Linked DNA regions of Homo sapiens: regions 1 and 2 are each linked to region 3. The links are contacts of gene promoters, found by promoter capture Hi-C in blood cells and fetal thymus (Javierre and others, 2016). All regions are on one chromosome and are shown on one strand. Each heading gives the region's core, a stretch centred on a gene start or on the middle of the fragment in contact. The rest is flanking DNA. Distances are from core to core; before and after follow the strand shown. Region 1 overlaps TGM4 (transglutaminase 4). Region 2 overlaps ZDHHC3 (zDHHC palmitoyltransferase 3). Region 3 holds the start of ZNF445 (zinc finger protein 445).

Region 1 (4,595 bases), core at 710-3,209, 430 kb after region 3:
AACAAGTGGGATGTCCTGATGACAACGGGTAATGTCTGTCATGGACTCAGGATGTAAGCTTGGAGAACTTGGCCAATTATTATTCCATCTTGAGCCCAACGTCTTGTTTTCTAAAGAGAGTATGGGACATGTCCAAAGTTATCCAGTTCAATTCACACAAAGTTAATCTAATTCTGTGCTTGATGAGGAGAACTCATACTGGGGGGGTATGATGAATGACCTCTCCCCTCCACCCTGACTCTTTGGCAGTATCAGAAGTGACTCTGACCTTGGACTCCAAGACCTACATCAACAGCCTGGCTATATTAGATGATGAGCCAGTTATCAGAGGTTTCATCATTGCGGAAATTGTGGAGTCTAAGGAAATCATGGCCTCTGAAGTATTCACGTCTTTCCAGTACCCTGAGTTCTCTATAGAGGTGAGCTTCCTGCAGGCCATAAAGGGCTCCTTCTGCCTGGAAGTTGGCCATGGAGTGTGACGGGGCCCCTAAGAACCCTGAGGGTCCTTGGTTGGCTCATGCATATCTTCTCTCCCCATCTCTCCTCCCCACCCTACTACAGTTGCCTAACACAGGCAGAATTGGCCAGCTACTTGTCTGCAATTGTATCTTCAAGAATACCCTGGCCATCCCTTTGACTGACGTCAAGTTCTCTTTGGAAAGCCTGGGCATCTCCTCACTACAGACCTCTGACCATGGGTGAGTCTGCCTGAGGTATTCTTAGAAATATGCTTCTGGACATATATCTTGCACATGTGTGCATATTCCTGAGAAGTGAATTCCCAGTATGGGGTCACAGGGTCAAAATGTAGATACATTTTGCTAGTGCCAAATTACTTTGAGAAAAGATTGCATCAATTTATGCTCTACCGACAGATCTTTTTGATTCTTGCCAATCTAGTGGTTAAGTAATCTCATTGCTTTACTTTGCATCTGATTATTTGTGAGGTTGAATATTTCTTACATTAATTGACTCTCTCCTGTGAATTGCCTGTTCCTAACTTTTGTCCATTTTTCTACTGAGTCATTTATTTTTTCATATTGGTATGGTGTCTTTACACAGTAGAGTGTTATGTGCTGTGAATTTTTTTATAGCAGTTTTGTATTCAATTTTTTAAATTTGATTCTTATTTATTTTGAGGTGGAGTCTCACTTTGTTGCCCAGGCTGGAGTGCAGTGACACGATCTTGGCTCACTGCAATCTCCATCCGTCCCCAGGTTCAAGTGATTCTCCTGCCTTGGCCTCCTGAGTAGCTGGGATTACAGGCATATGCCACCACACCCGGCTAATTTTTGTATTTTTAGTAGAAACGGGGTTTCCCCATATTGGCCAGCCTGGTCTTGAACTCCTGACCTCAGGTGATCTGCCCGCCTTGGCCTCCCAAAGTGCTGGGATTACAGGCATGGGCCATCATGCCCGGCCGAACAGTTTGTATTTTTTTAAACACTAAGATGTCTTTCACCAGTAGAACTTTTAAATTTTAATGTAGTCAAATTTTTCAATCTTTTCCTTTACGGATACTGAATTTCATGTCATCCTAGGTGCATAGAAATATTCTCTTATGCTTTTTCTAGAATTTCCAGCTTTATTTACACAATTAGGTATTTATCTGGAATTTTTTTTGGGTGTGGAGTGATGTGGAGCTCCAACTTTGTCTGTGGTTTTCCTAGTACTTTGTAGCACTGCCTTTATTATGCTGTCAATTCCCATATATATCTGGGTCTCTGGACTCTTTAATTTGCTATTTCATTTGTCTTCTTCTAATATAACATCATACCACTTAAATTATTGTAGTCCTATAATAATTTTATATGATTATCATATCTACATATTGATATGTATTAGGCAAATCCCCACCCCACCCCCATTTTTGTCTATAGCACTTTTAGAATCATCTTGTCATATAATTTTAAAACAGCTGGGATTTAGATTGATACTGCATTGAATTTACCTATTTATTTGGGGGAGAATTATGCCAAATGACAATATTGTGTCTTGCCATCTAGGAATATGAGATTTTCCCATTTTTTTCCAGTCTTTTTTATCACCTTTAGAAAAGCTATATTGTTTTCTTTATATACCACTTGCACGTTATTAGTTGGGTTAATTCCAAGATGCATCAATATTATAGCTTTTATGAATGGAATATTTTTCATTGTATTTTCTAATTGTTTGCTGGACTATATGGAAATTGATTTTTGGCATGCTGATATATCCAGCAAAAAACTTTACTGAACTCTAATGTTTTGTTTCTGAGAGGTTTCTGATGGTCTGTTTCTTACAGGATGTCTGAATCTTCCAAGTAAAAATGAGTAGACTCCTATTTTCCTTAGACCACGATTTATCACATTTTAATGTGCACACAAATTACCTGGGGAGTATTGTTACAGTGTAGATTCTGATTCAGCAGGTTTAGGGTGGAGCCTCAGATTCTGTGTTTCCTACAAGCTCAGCTAGTATTGCGAAGCCCCAGAACACACTTTGAGTAGTGAGGGGCTAGCCAATTCCTTGCATGTGGATTCAACATAAAATACATGTTCCTCTTAGATTTTATGTAATAGATGACTGTTGCTAATACTCATGAAACAAGAACATCTGTAGTAAAGTCAGGCAAGACTCCAGGGAAGATTTGTGAAATGTCAGAGTTGGAAGAGCTTCTGGAAACCAGCTGGTTCACCCGTCTTGCTTTACATCTGAGAAAACTGATAGCAGCACCCAGGGTGCAGGTACACTGTGCCATGCCCTGGAATGGCCAGGACTTTTCAAAGAGGCTGAGCTAAGGCTCAGTTTCCTGGCTTCTCACCCAACTCATCTTCTCCCTCTTCCCATAACATCCTTGGCTGATTGTATGTCCGTATGTCTTTGAATTTTCCAGGACGGTGCAGCCTGGTGAGACCATCCAATCCCAAATAAAATGCACCCCAATAAAAACTGGACCCAAGAAATTTATCGTCAAGTTAAGTTCCAAACAAGTGAAAGAGATTAATGCTCAGAAGATTGTTCTCATCACCAAGTAGCCTTGTCTGATGCTGTGGAGCCTTAGTTGAGATTTCAGCATTTCCTACCTTGTGCTTAGCTTTCAGATTATGGATGATTAAATTTGATGACTTATATGAGGGCAGATTCAAGAGCCAGCAGGTCAAAAAGGCCAACACAACCATAAGCAGCCAGACCCACAAGGCCAGGTCCTGTGCTATCACAGGGTCACCTCTTTTACAGTTAGAAACACCAGCCGAGGCCACAGAATCCCATCCCTTTCCTGAGTCATGGCCTCAAAAATCAGGGCCACCATTGTCTCAATTCAAATCCATAGATTTCGAAGCCACAGAGTCTCTCCCTGGAGCAGCAGACTATGGGCAGCCCAGTGCTGCCACCTGCTGACGACCCTTGAGAAGCTGCCATATCTTCAGGCCATGGGTTCACCAGCCCTGAAGGCACCTGTCAACTGGAGTGCTCTCTCAGCACTGGGATGGGCCTGATAGAAGTGCATTCTCCTCCTATTGCCTCCATTCTCCTCTCTCTATCCCTGAAATCCAGGAAGTCCCTCTCCTGGTGCTCCAAGCAGTTTGAAGCCCAATCTGCAAGGACATTTCTCAAGGGCCATGTGGTTTTGCAGACAACCCTGTCCTCAGGCCTGAACTCACCATAGAGACCCATGTCAGCAAACGGTGACCAGCAAATCCTCTTCCCTTATTCTAAAGCTGCCCCTTGGGAGACTCCAGGGAGAAGGCATTGCTTCCTCCCTGGTGTGAACTCTTTCTTTGGTATTCCATCCACTATCCTGGCAACTCAAGGCTGCTTCTGTTAACTGAAGCCTGCTCCTTCTTGTTCTGCCCTCCAGAGATTTGCTCAAATGATCAATAAGCTTTAAATTAAACTCTACTTCAAGAAAACTCTGTGGTCCCTGAGTCCTTTTTTCTTTATGCCAATAAGCTTCTTAAATGTGCTGGCGGTTTATGCAGTCACTTGGGGAGCCATGGAATCCTTTGATCTCCCCAGGCAAGGTGCTCTGAGGAGTTGGCTTCTTTATTGTCTGTTCAGTACATCCAACCCCTCTCTCAAAGGCTGTCACCCCAACTGGATACACACCCTGGCAAAGGCACGTAGCTTGAATGAGGGTTATTTTGTGTCTAATTCACAGGAGAGTCATGGGTGGGATACCTGTCATCCTCTGCCTTTCCAGCTGTCCAAGTGAAAAAAACCTCAATCCTGGTCACCCTTGCCCAAGTTGCCCACATCCCTGGCATACAGTAGGTGTTCAATAAATGTTTATTGAAGGAAAGGTGACTGTTCCTTCTGCTGGAAATACCACAAGGGTGGTGACACAAACAAGAGTTTGGTCAGTCACTCCACAGCACAGTGTCCGATCCCAAGAGGTGATATAGCCCGGCACGGCCACTGTGTGGTGCCGTATGACACTCACTTGTCTCCCACACTGGGAATGGAAGAAAAGTAGCTTTCCTAGAGGTGCCTTTAGGGTGGCCCATAAGGAAGGACACTGCCCAAGGGTTTGAGCTGGGATCTCTTAATTAAAACAGGAGACTCCAGTCACTGAGGGTGAGCAAAGAGCTTTTTATTCAAAGAAAGAGGCAAAT
Region 2 (4,530 bases), core at 1,106-3,605, 490 kb after region 3:
CTTGTAAAGAGACTGTGAGAACTACCCGCCCTGCTTCCAAATTGTGGTCCACTCTGTTTTACAGATGAGTAAGGAAGTGAAGCTCAAGGAGTCAGTGGATCTTCACAGGGAGGTGGCTAACTTGTTTTCTAGGTCTAATGGATGGTAACTACTACAATCTGTTTAATTGCTACGCTGCCATCTCCCTGCATTAACTTCTCCTTGCAGGAAGTTTGTAAGCCAGCAGGAGCATCTTCATAAAGGCAACAATAAATGACTGCTCCAGCTACCCAATGAACACTTGCCGATGACGGTGATACTCTCATAGTTTGTGAACCCCTTGTAATCCAGTGCATGATCTCATTTGACAATGAACTGCCTTCTGGCCTCTGTGAGGGTAGGCTCCAGTTCTGCTTGATTGTTGCCAAAGTGTGGGATATGCTGAATGTAGGGTGGGGCCCTGATTCTTTCCTGACCCTCACTTAAGGTGTCACCACTGCCTCCATCAGGGCACTGGGCTGCTTGCTACACATGCCTCTTCCTGTTTGATTCTCACATCTACTCTATTTTGCACATATAAATGCCCACTTCCCCATCCTGCTTTTAGAAACGAGAAAACTGAAGCATGCCTACAACCATACTTCCAGGAAGTGGTGGAGACAGGATATACTCCCAAAGTCTGCTCTTGCCCCAGGGCTTGCTTTTCACTACTTACTACAATAATTAAATTTTGTCTAGTAACTAGAAAATAAAAGGGGGAGGAGTATTGATGTTTCCATCAGTGACCTTGGGTTACTTACGGTTTGGCTATCTTGTCCACACATGGTTATGCAGAGGTGGCATTATCGAGTGGGCTGCATGCAGTGGTGCTCACAGGCCACAGGCCTGAACATAAGCATTTTGGGCTCTAAGGTGGGGCCCTGGCTGAATACCAGCCAACATTTAGAATACCGATCCTGCCCTAACCTAGGAGGCAGGAAGGCCGTGAAGCCTCAGCCAGAAGAGTCACCTAGGATTGAATCCCTAAAATCTGCTTTGGCTGGGAAATACTTCCTGTGGTGCCAAGTAACAGAATGCTGCTTTTTGTGAGAAAAAACGCCTCCCCCCATGCTAGGCAGAGACCTATCAGCAAAGGTTCCCACCTGAGGATGTTGAGAATGACACCTGGGCCCACATTGTGTCATGTGCAGCCACACAGCCACTGTGACATCACTTAGGCTAGGCCAGAGCTTGGTTGTTTTTAGGGACTAAAAGCAAAAGTGCTTAGAGAAATCCGAAAGACTAGCTAGGGAAGGGAGAGAACCAGTTATTGCAACTGTACTAGGTACTAGGGCCTAAAAAGGGGAGCCATTTGACTTTCAGGAATCTGCTGGTATCACTTATTCCAGGCACTGTAAGTGGCAGTGCAAGAGCAGAGCCCTGGGAGGAACCTGGGACCACAGAAAGAAGGCTGTAATGGGCTGTGAGAAAGAGAACACAGCCCCTGCTTACCTGGTGAGGGGCTCTCCAGCCATTCACCAGAGGGCTTTGGAAATAGATGGGAGGCTAGTGCTAAAGGGAATGAAGACTGAGCTTGGAATCAAGAGGCCAGAGTTTACTCCCAATCCTGCCACTCGCTAACCTCATGATCTCAGGCAAGACAGTTACCATTCTGGGCCTCAGTTTCCTCATTTGATAAAACAAAGGGGAAGATCACGCTGATTGCTAGGGCCCCTTGCAGGGCTGAGATTCTATGAGTCCTCTGTTCTCAGGAGCAAATTCAACGTTTTCTTTGTTAATATCTTGGATTTTACATTTTTTTACCAAAAGCTTCACTTACCTCTTTTCCCGATTTGCTAATATTCAAAAAGAAGCCCACTAGTAACTATCTCTCTTAGCAATTTCCTGAGCATGTTTAGTTTTTTCAATCAAGTACAGCATAAAATTACGACTTCCTTTTGTTCATTTAATTTTTTTCAGAGTGGAAAAAGCACTAGCAAAATATATCAAGTATAATGAAGTGGTAAATGAAAGAAGTCTTAAAAACCCCAATTTAAACATGGTCATTTTTCAATATTCAAATATTTGCATATCCAGGATCCATTCTGAGTTTAAAAACCTGGCAAGATACTCACTTGAGGGCAAAATGAGACTTAGGTTAACTGACTTGTTCAAAGTCATAAAGCAAGTTAATAGCAAAGCCCAAATCTTTGGACTAAGATGCCCGGAAGTCTTTCTACCATAGATTGTTATCTTCCTAAACAACCTGTCTTTCTAGATTCTCTGCTACTATTTCTTGGTTTAGAAACATACACTTCACATACTGAAGACTTTACTGCAACAGGACTGTGGCCAGAACTGTACTTGTCTCATTAGGCTTACCTTGCTAAGGTAAGAAAGTGATCTCACTCAAAGGCATTGCATCTCCACTGACCTTGAATAGGAAATACATATTCATATCTTGCCAAGAGTTCAAGTGCCAAGTCAATACATACTACGAAGTCTATGGTTTGGAGGAGACTATGAAATGATGACATTTCCCATGCATTCCAAATGTATTAGGATGTATGACTGAATTAAGTGGGACATGCACCTGGAGCCTTCTCACCTTCACAGTTGACAGCCATGAATGAACTGGCCATTTGTCTCTGGAAATCTGCTTCCGAGGAGGAAAGCAAATGATTTTTTAAAATGCAAAACAGGAAGGAACTAAAGGCAGCATGGCATGAGCCTCATTTTTTCCCCAACAGGTCAACACTGAGACATCACCCCTCCACTTCTACTTGAGACTTTGTTACTTTCCATGGCTATCAGGGTGTGTGTGTTTAAATATTTCTACATTTGGTAAGCAGGATCTGTTACCCCCTTTTCTCAAATATGCCCTAATGAGACATAGGAAACATGCTGTCACTCTCCCAAAATGAAACACACATGAAGACTGTATAACTTTTCCTCTAATTAAGAGTAAGCTTTACCCATGTATTACTAGCAATTTTTCTATCACTGTAATCTCAAGTTACAATGTCTAGAAGACAGATGAAGACCTGCTGGCCAGACTATGACAGTATTCTTTACAGATATTCTTCATTTCTATCATTATTTTATTACTTATTTTATTATTTTTTAGCGATGGGGTCTATGTTGCCCAGGCTGGACTCAAACTCCGGGGCTTAAGGGATCCTCCCACCTCATTCTTTTAAGACAAGGTACAGGCGGGACAAATGCAAAGTGTTTAAAGGAAACAGATCTACAGGCAAAACGGTAACTGACTTTGTACATTTCAAGGGTGCTGGGCTAATGGTGAAAATGCAAAGGAAAAGGCCTAAAACATGGCCATGTCTGCTTAGGACTGGGAACAGAAGGTTTCCTGCTGGGCTTTTAAGAGCTCTCTATGGCTGGGCATGGTGGCTCATGCCCATAATCACAGCACTTTGGGAGGCCAAGGCAGGCAGATCTCTTGAGGCCAGGAGTTCGAGACCAGCCTGACCAACATGGCCAAACCCAGTCTCTACCAAAAATACAAAAATTAGCCGGGAGTGGTGGCACACACTTGTAATCCCAGCTACTCGGGAGGCTGAGGCACAAGAATTGCTTGAACCCAGGAGGCGGAGGTTGCGGTGAGCAGAGATTGTGCCACCGCACTCCAGCCTAGACAACAGAGCAAGACTCTGTCTCCAAAAAAGCTCTCTGCAACATCAGCACCACAGACTCAGCATTGCCCTGAAGCTCTTTTGTAACTGGCTTTTATTGGTTTAATTAACCAAGGATGGGTGGGACAGAGTTACTCCATCTCTGTCATGTTATTGTTGCCGGCTTGTGGCTAGCAGCAGCTCTTTACCTTTTGTATTTGATACCTGGCCTGCACAATTAGCACCTTATTATAGGCTGGCCTCTCTTCTAATTGCCACGTCTCAATTGAGCACTTTATTTTATTGTCTTGTTCATGCAGTAGTTCGAGGTCCTGGGCTCCCCCACTATAATAAATTCTAAACTACTTTTAGGCAGGTGTTGTGTTTTGAGTTTATCTCTTTATGCCCATAAGAACACCAGGGACTCACAGGCATGCAAACACACTGTCTGGAGTTTCTAGATATCTGAGTATGGCATACGGTTGGAATCTGGGTCTCCATGCATGCTACTCAACCCTAGTACCAGATCTATCAGCCATCTTTGCCATTGAGGGCTCTCTCCTTAGCTACTTGGAGTTAAGCTCTTATTCTGCTCATATATAACCTTTTACCTTGTTTAAAATATTGGGTTGCAACAGACACAGCAACATCCCATCAGCACCACATTCCATGTTCCTCTAGAAAAATGATTCAAGGGATATGAGTTTATGCTTGAACAGACTTCTTGCTTTTGGAATTAAGATTAACTATATAGTTCATAGGACAGTTACCAACGCCATAACAAAATTGGGATTTCCTTCACCAAATAATCTGGTGAATGTAATAAAACCTGGGGGGAGGCTGTGTAAGGTGATGGTTAGGAGTATGGGCAGGAGAGCTAGACTGCCTGGTCTCAAGTCCTGGTTCTGCCATTTACCAATGATGTAACCTGTGACCCTGGTTA
Region 3 (4,519 bases), core at 596-3,095:
CCCGTCTTTACTTAAAATACAAAAATTAGCTGGGCGTGGTGGCACACACCTGTAATCCCAGCTACTTGGGAGGCTGAGGCAGGAGAATCACTTGAACCCAGGAGGCGGAGGCTGCAGTGAGCCGAGTTTGCACCACTGCACTCCAGCCTGGGCAACAAGAGTGAAACTCCGTCTCAAAAATAAAATAAATAAAATAAACAAGGAAAAAGAAAATAAATTTAAGAATAGGAAGGAAAAAAAGAAATTCATAAATTCAATCTTACAGAACACCTAACAATTCGCCTGAGAGTCACAGAAATGTACTCTTTCACATTGTTTCTAATACAAAATCTTGAAAATTGCAAAATACAGTGTTATGTTTTACTATAGTTTACTCTCTGACATCGTAGACTGCTTATGCACTAATTCTTCCTGGATACCGGAAGCCAGAGAAAACCTAGCGGTGGAATACTTGCCATTTTTCATGCTTTTTGTCAGTTTCCTTTTTAAGTGCATACTGAGGTTTATCTTCAAAACATTCTCATCTTTTCGGCTTACAGTAAGACTTTTTTTTTTTTCTAACCAAAATGTGTCTGCCTTTCATTAAGATAACATAAAAGAGCAGCCTAATTCTTTGGTCCCTGAATATGCACACACATGCATGCACACACACACACGCAGACACACACACAACACATGGAGGCTCTCTGAAACTGCTTAATCAAATTACTGCTCAAACCACTCCCTGGCACTTCCTTGCAAAACAACCAACCTAATACTGAGTTTTTAGTTTTGCACTACAAGCCGTTTGAAACAGAATAACATTCTTTCCTGGCCACCACTTTTAAATTCGGAAGGAGACAATACTCTGATCTCTTAGGCCTGTGCAAGTCAGAGTGTGCTACAATCGCTGCAGGTTAGAGCTCTGCCTTTGTTTAAAAACTGCATTTTATATACTAGTTACTTCATTGTGAAAGATAACCACCCTGACAAACAAGATTTTGCTATTTTTCTGCACAAATGTCACTTCACCATTTAGAGCTTCATGCAAATGTGTCTCCTACAGAAAATAAACTGCAAACACGATTTCTTAATTATCCTCGCCAAAAAAAAAATGTTTTAGTGGTGTCATAATGCCAGCACTAATTTTAGCCAAAATAAGAACAAATGCATTCTACAAATTCAGGAGATTATAATTTTTAAAAAGCAGTAGTATGGATATACTTAATGTCACTGAATTACACACTTCCAAATGGTTAAATGGTAAACGTTTATGTATTGTATGGTAAATGTTATGTGTTATTTTGGCACAATATTGTTTCCTCACAATAATACTAACAGGTTTTTTAAAAAGCAAGAGCACGCTCTCATTTCGTAATATATATTTATGGATGTCAGTGTGCAGAATTATGCACAGATATTTTAAATGTCAGGAGGCCTGGAGACAGATTTCAGGATTGCGGCTACTTTTACTTTTCTTCTACTTTCCCGTGTTATCTAATTGTCTCTGATAAATACGCTTTATATGCAGAATTGGATGAAACGAGAAAGCCCGGAGAAACCCGGGCTCCAGATTCTCTACCCCGGACGCCTGGGAGGCAAAGAGGTTCTAGATACGCCCTCAGCGTGGCGGGGGCGGGATCCACCGCCAGACCCCCGCCACGGGCGCAGCCTCCAGGCCGGGCCCCGTCCGCCGCCCGGGCAGGCCCGAGAATGCCGCGGACTTCGGGGAGCCCCGCGCCCGCAATGCCGCCACCCCCACCCCCGCGCCCCGCCAGGCCTCTCACCGACTCCCGCCGCCGAGCGACAATCGGTCCACCCGCCGCCACCGCAGCCGCCCGTCCCGCGCCTACCTCCCGGCGGCTCCAGTCGCGCACGCGCGTCGGCGCCCGGGGCCCTCCGCGGCCTCTCTAGGAAACTGGGAGGCCCAACGTCTCTGCTTCTCTCCGGCTCCGGTGCGGCGGGCGGCGGGGCTTGTCCAACATCCCTCACCTCCCTCAGTTGGACATTTCCCTTCCACGCTCGGATGCCCAGCCGCGCCTGTTTTCTTGCATCCCTCCTGTCGTGTCTGCGGGGCTGCCCTGAAGGCCTCTTTCCCTCCAGGGAAGAAAGGGATCCAAAGCTAGGGGTGAAAATAGGGCCAGCAGTATCTAGCAGACTGGTCCTGGCCAGGAGAAGGGGTTAAGGGAGCCACTCATTCTTCGCCTGGGTACACTTCAAAGAGGGGAACCAGATCCTACGGGAAGCTAGGTGCCAGAACTCCTGCCTTTCCAAGACGAGCTCATCCCCATCATCACCATACCCAGGAATACTTGTTCATAGCCAGCTCAGAGGTGCACCATACTTTAGCTTCCCACGGCCTTCACTCGTTTTCTCCTGTGGGTGAATTCTAACTAGGCTCGCCTGGTGAGTGAACAATGATGCCATTGCCCAATAATATGTGGAATCTGGGAGGAGTAGGTTGGGGGTAGGGGGTGGAGGGGCTGCTTGAAGAGGAGGTGAAGCAACCTGGAGAGGTTGCCCACCCCCTGTAGGAGCAAATGTCATCTATTGCCAGTGCCAGAGAACCTTGAGGGTGCACAGCCAAAGCCATAAGGCCATCTGCTGCCATTGGAGGGCATGCTACAAGCTGCTGTCCTGGTAGTCCTCTGGTTTGTGCTTCCTAGTGGCAGGCTGCAACATGTTGACGATTGATCTTTCAGATGGGCATTGATGATGCCCATCTGTGCCCTGAGGCTTTGCTTTACTCATCTGATCCACCCCTTTTTAATGCCCCAGTCACCAAAGATGGAAACAGAGAATAGATCCTGAACACCAGGAAGATGGTGACAAGGTGATAGAGAAACAGATGGCACATTCAAACAAGGTAAGTGGGGAGAGTTCACAAGGGGCGATTTACACAAAGTGGACAGGGTTAAGGAAATGCAACACGGAGTGGTGCAGAATCCCATGGCTAGCAAAATTTAGAAGCTATTCTCACCCCTAGGAGCAGGCCATCTGAGAGAAACTGTGGCTTTCAGTTGAGGGCTACATCCAAGCCATAGTCCAGCACAAAGGAAGCTGAGGTAATAAATAACCTGAACCCAGCTCTCTTCTGATCTCCTGCCAGGGCTTCCCATTGGCCCAACTCAACTGGAAGCCAGAGGGCAATCCAGGAAACTCAGTCTCCCAAGTGTCACAGCAGGGTTGAGGACTGAGACTGAATATGGAGGGGCAATTGGAAAATATCCAACACATACAAAAAGGAAAATAGAAACTGCTTGTCAATGCCTAATTTGTCCATTAATTTCCACTCGATATAATGTTCTTGAGTGACTCAGAACCACCCATAGTGGTGAGAAGAGTTTTCAAGTTTTGTTTGAGAACAAAATTTTCCCATCGTAGAAGAGTTTGAGCAGGTTCTCTGTGTTTGGGATGTACTTACTGGATGTTTTTCAACGTGATAGGTGGTTAGCATGGATAGCACCCACATTTAGTGTGATCAAACAGATCAACCAAATTGGCTTCACCAGCACTTGCAAAGTTCGGGAAGCAGCCACTGGGAGTGCAGCTCTGATTTTAAGACCTATACAGCTTCTTGAATCTCGAAGTTCTGCTAATACCTGATTTCTCCGAGTGCCACAGCACTCGAGCCTATAACCATGAGGTTTCTTCACTTTTCTGGTAGGAGGCATATTCTTGCTAGCTGTACTTCCTGAGCACTGTACTCTTTCAGATCGGGGCAGTTTGCTTAGTAAAAGCCCTAGGTAAGATTCTCAAATTCTCATGTGCATATGAATACAAATCACTTGGGATCTGGTTAAACTGTAGATTCAAATTCAGGAGGTCTGGGGAGGGACCAACGAATATTTTTAACAAACTTCCAGGTGTACCCATATTGCAGTTCTTGGACCACACTTGGAGAAGCAAAGAACTGTGCATGTAAATCAGTGGTTCTTAACTTTGCTGCAGATTAGAATCCTCCTCAGAGCTTTTAAAAAGTCCATACCTCATATCAATTCAATCCAAATCTTTGTGGGTGAGACACTGACAAGCCTAGATTTTAAAATCCCTAGATGATTCCAACATTTGAGAACCTGGAAGTAGATAATTATCCTTTTACCCTGATTCCTTGCTACATGTAAAAACCACATGCTAAAGGATTGCATGTTCATTTGCTTCTTTGTTTTGGAATTTAAAGTGTATCAGGATTCTGCCTTTCAAACAGAAGGGGGAAATTTCCTCCTTAATTTTTTTCTTCTTATTTTGAAATGGGGAAGAAAAAATTGGGGTGTTGAGATGGGGATCTGGAATGTGACTTGAGAAAAGAGATAAGATGTTAAAACTAAGAATCAGTTGTGGGCAAACAAATTGGCCTGGTAGGATTTTCACTCCTTTTCTGGCCTCAAACTCAGCCCCTTCTCTGTAGTTTGAAGGAGGCAGGTTGAAATATTAGGATGAAAATAAAATAGAGCAATGTATCTGAGGATGGTGATTACTGTGATCCATTGGATTAGTGTACTCTTCTATAAGAAAAACATAAAACAAATGTTTAAGCAGT

What was found. The method cuts DNA at HindIII sites, captures the fragments that hold promoters and counts their contacts. A CHiCAGO score of 5 or more calls a contact.
Region 1: a fragment that was not itself captured here is called in contact with the fragment with the promoter of ZNF445 in region 3 in 4 of 17 cell types (total B cells, naive B cells, naive CD8 T cells and 1 more); the score reaches 6.3 in total B cells.
Region 2: a fragment that was not itself captured here is called in contact with the fragment with the promoter of ZNF445 in region 3 in 4 of 17 cell types (naive CD4 T cells, total CD8 T cells, activated CD4 T cells and 1 more); the score reaches 7.4 in naive CD4 T cells.

The regions. Positions count from the first base shown.
Region 1 is chr3:44,910,709-44,915,303 of GRCh38, forward strand. It overlaps TGM4 (transglutaminase 4), which reads left to right. Exons shown (of 14, transcript NM_003241.4): 12 at 250-419; 13 at 562-698; 14 at 2,876-4,282. The coding sequence ends at 3,017. It overlaps ZDHHC3 (zDHHC palmitoyltransferase 3), which reads right to left. Exons shown (of 7, transcript NM_001135179.2): 7 at 4,553-4,595. Among named protein-coding and RNA genes, the nearest start is that of TGM4, 38 kb to the left of the region's middle. The HindIII fragment of the contact is 3,807 bases long and covers 57-3,863 here.
Region 2 is chr3:44,968,830-44,973,359 of GRCh38, forward strand. All of the region lies in intron 1 of ZDHHC3 (zDHHC palmitoyltransferase 3), which reads right to left. Among named protein-coding and RNA genes, the nearest start is that of ZDHHC3, 5.1 kb to the right of the region's middle. The HindIII fragment of the contact is 1,139 bases long and covers 1,787-2,925 here.
Region 3 is chr3:44,475,825-44,480,343 of GRCh38, forward strand. It overlaps ZNF445 (zinc finger protein 445), which reads right to left and starts at 1,846. Exons shown (of 8, transcript NM_181489.6): 1 at 1,767-1,846. It overlaps LOC101928529 (a long non-coding RNA gene), which reads left to right and starts at 1,866. Exons shown (of 4, transcript XR_940785.4): 1 at 1,866-2,385; 2 at 2,758-2,845. RefSeq lists silencers at 1,594-1,643, 1,664-1,823. The HindIII fragment of the contact is 9,006 bases long and covers 1-4,519 here.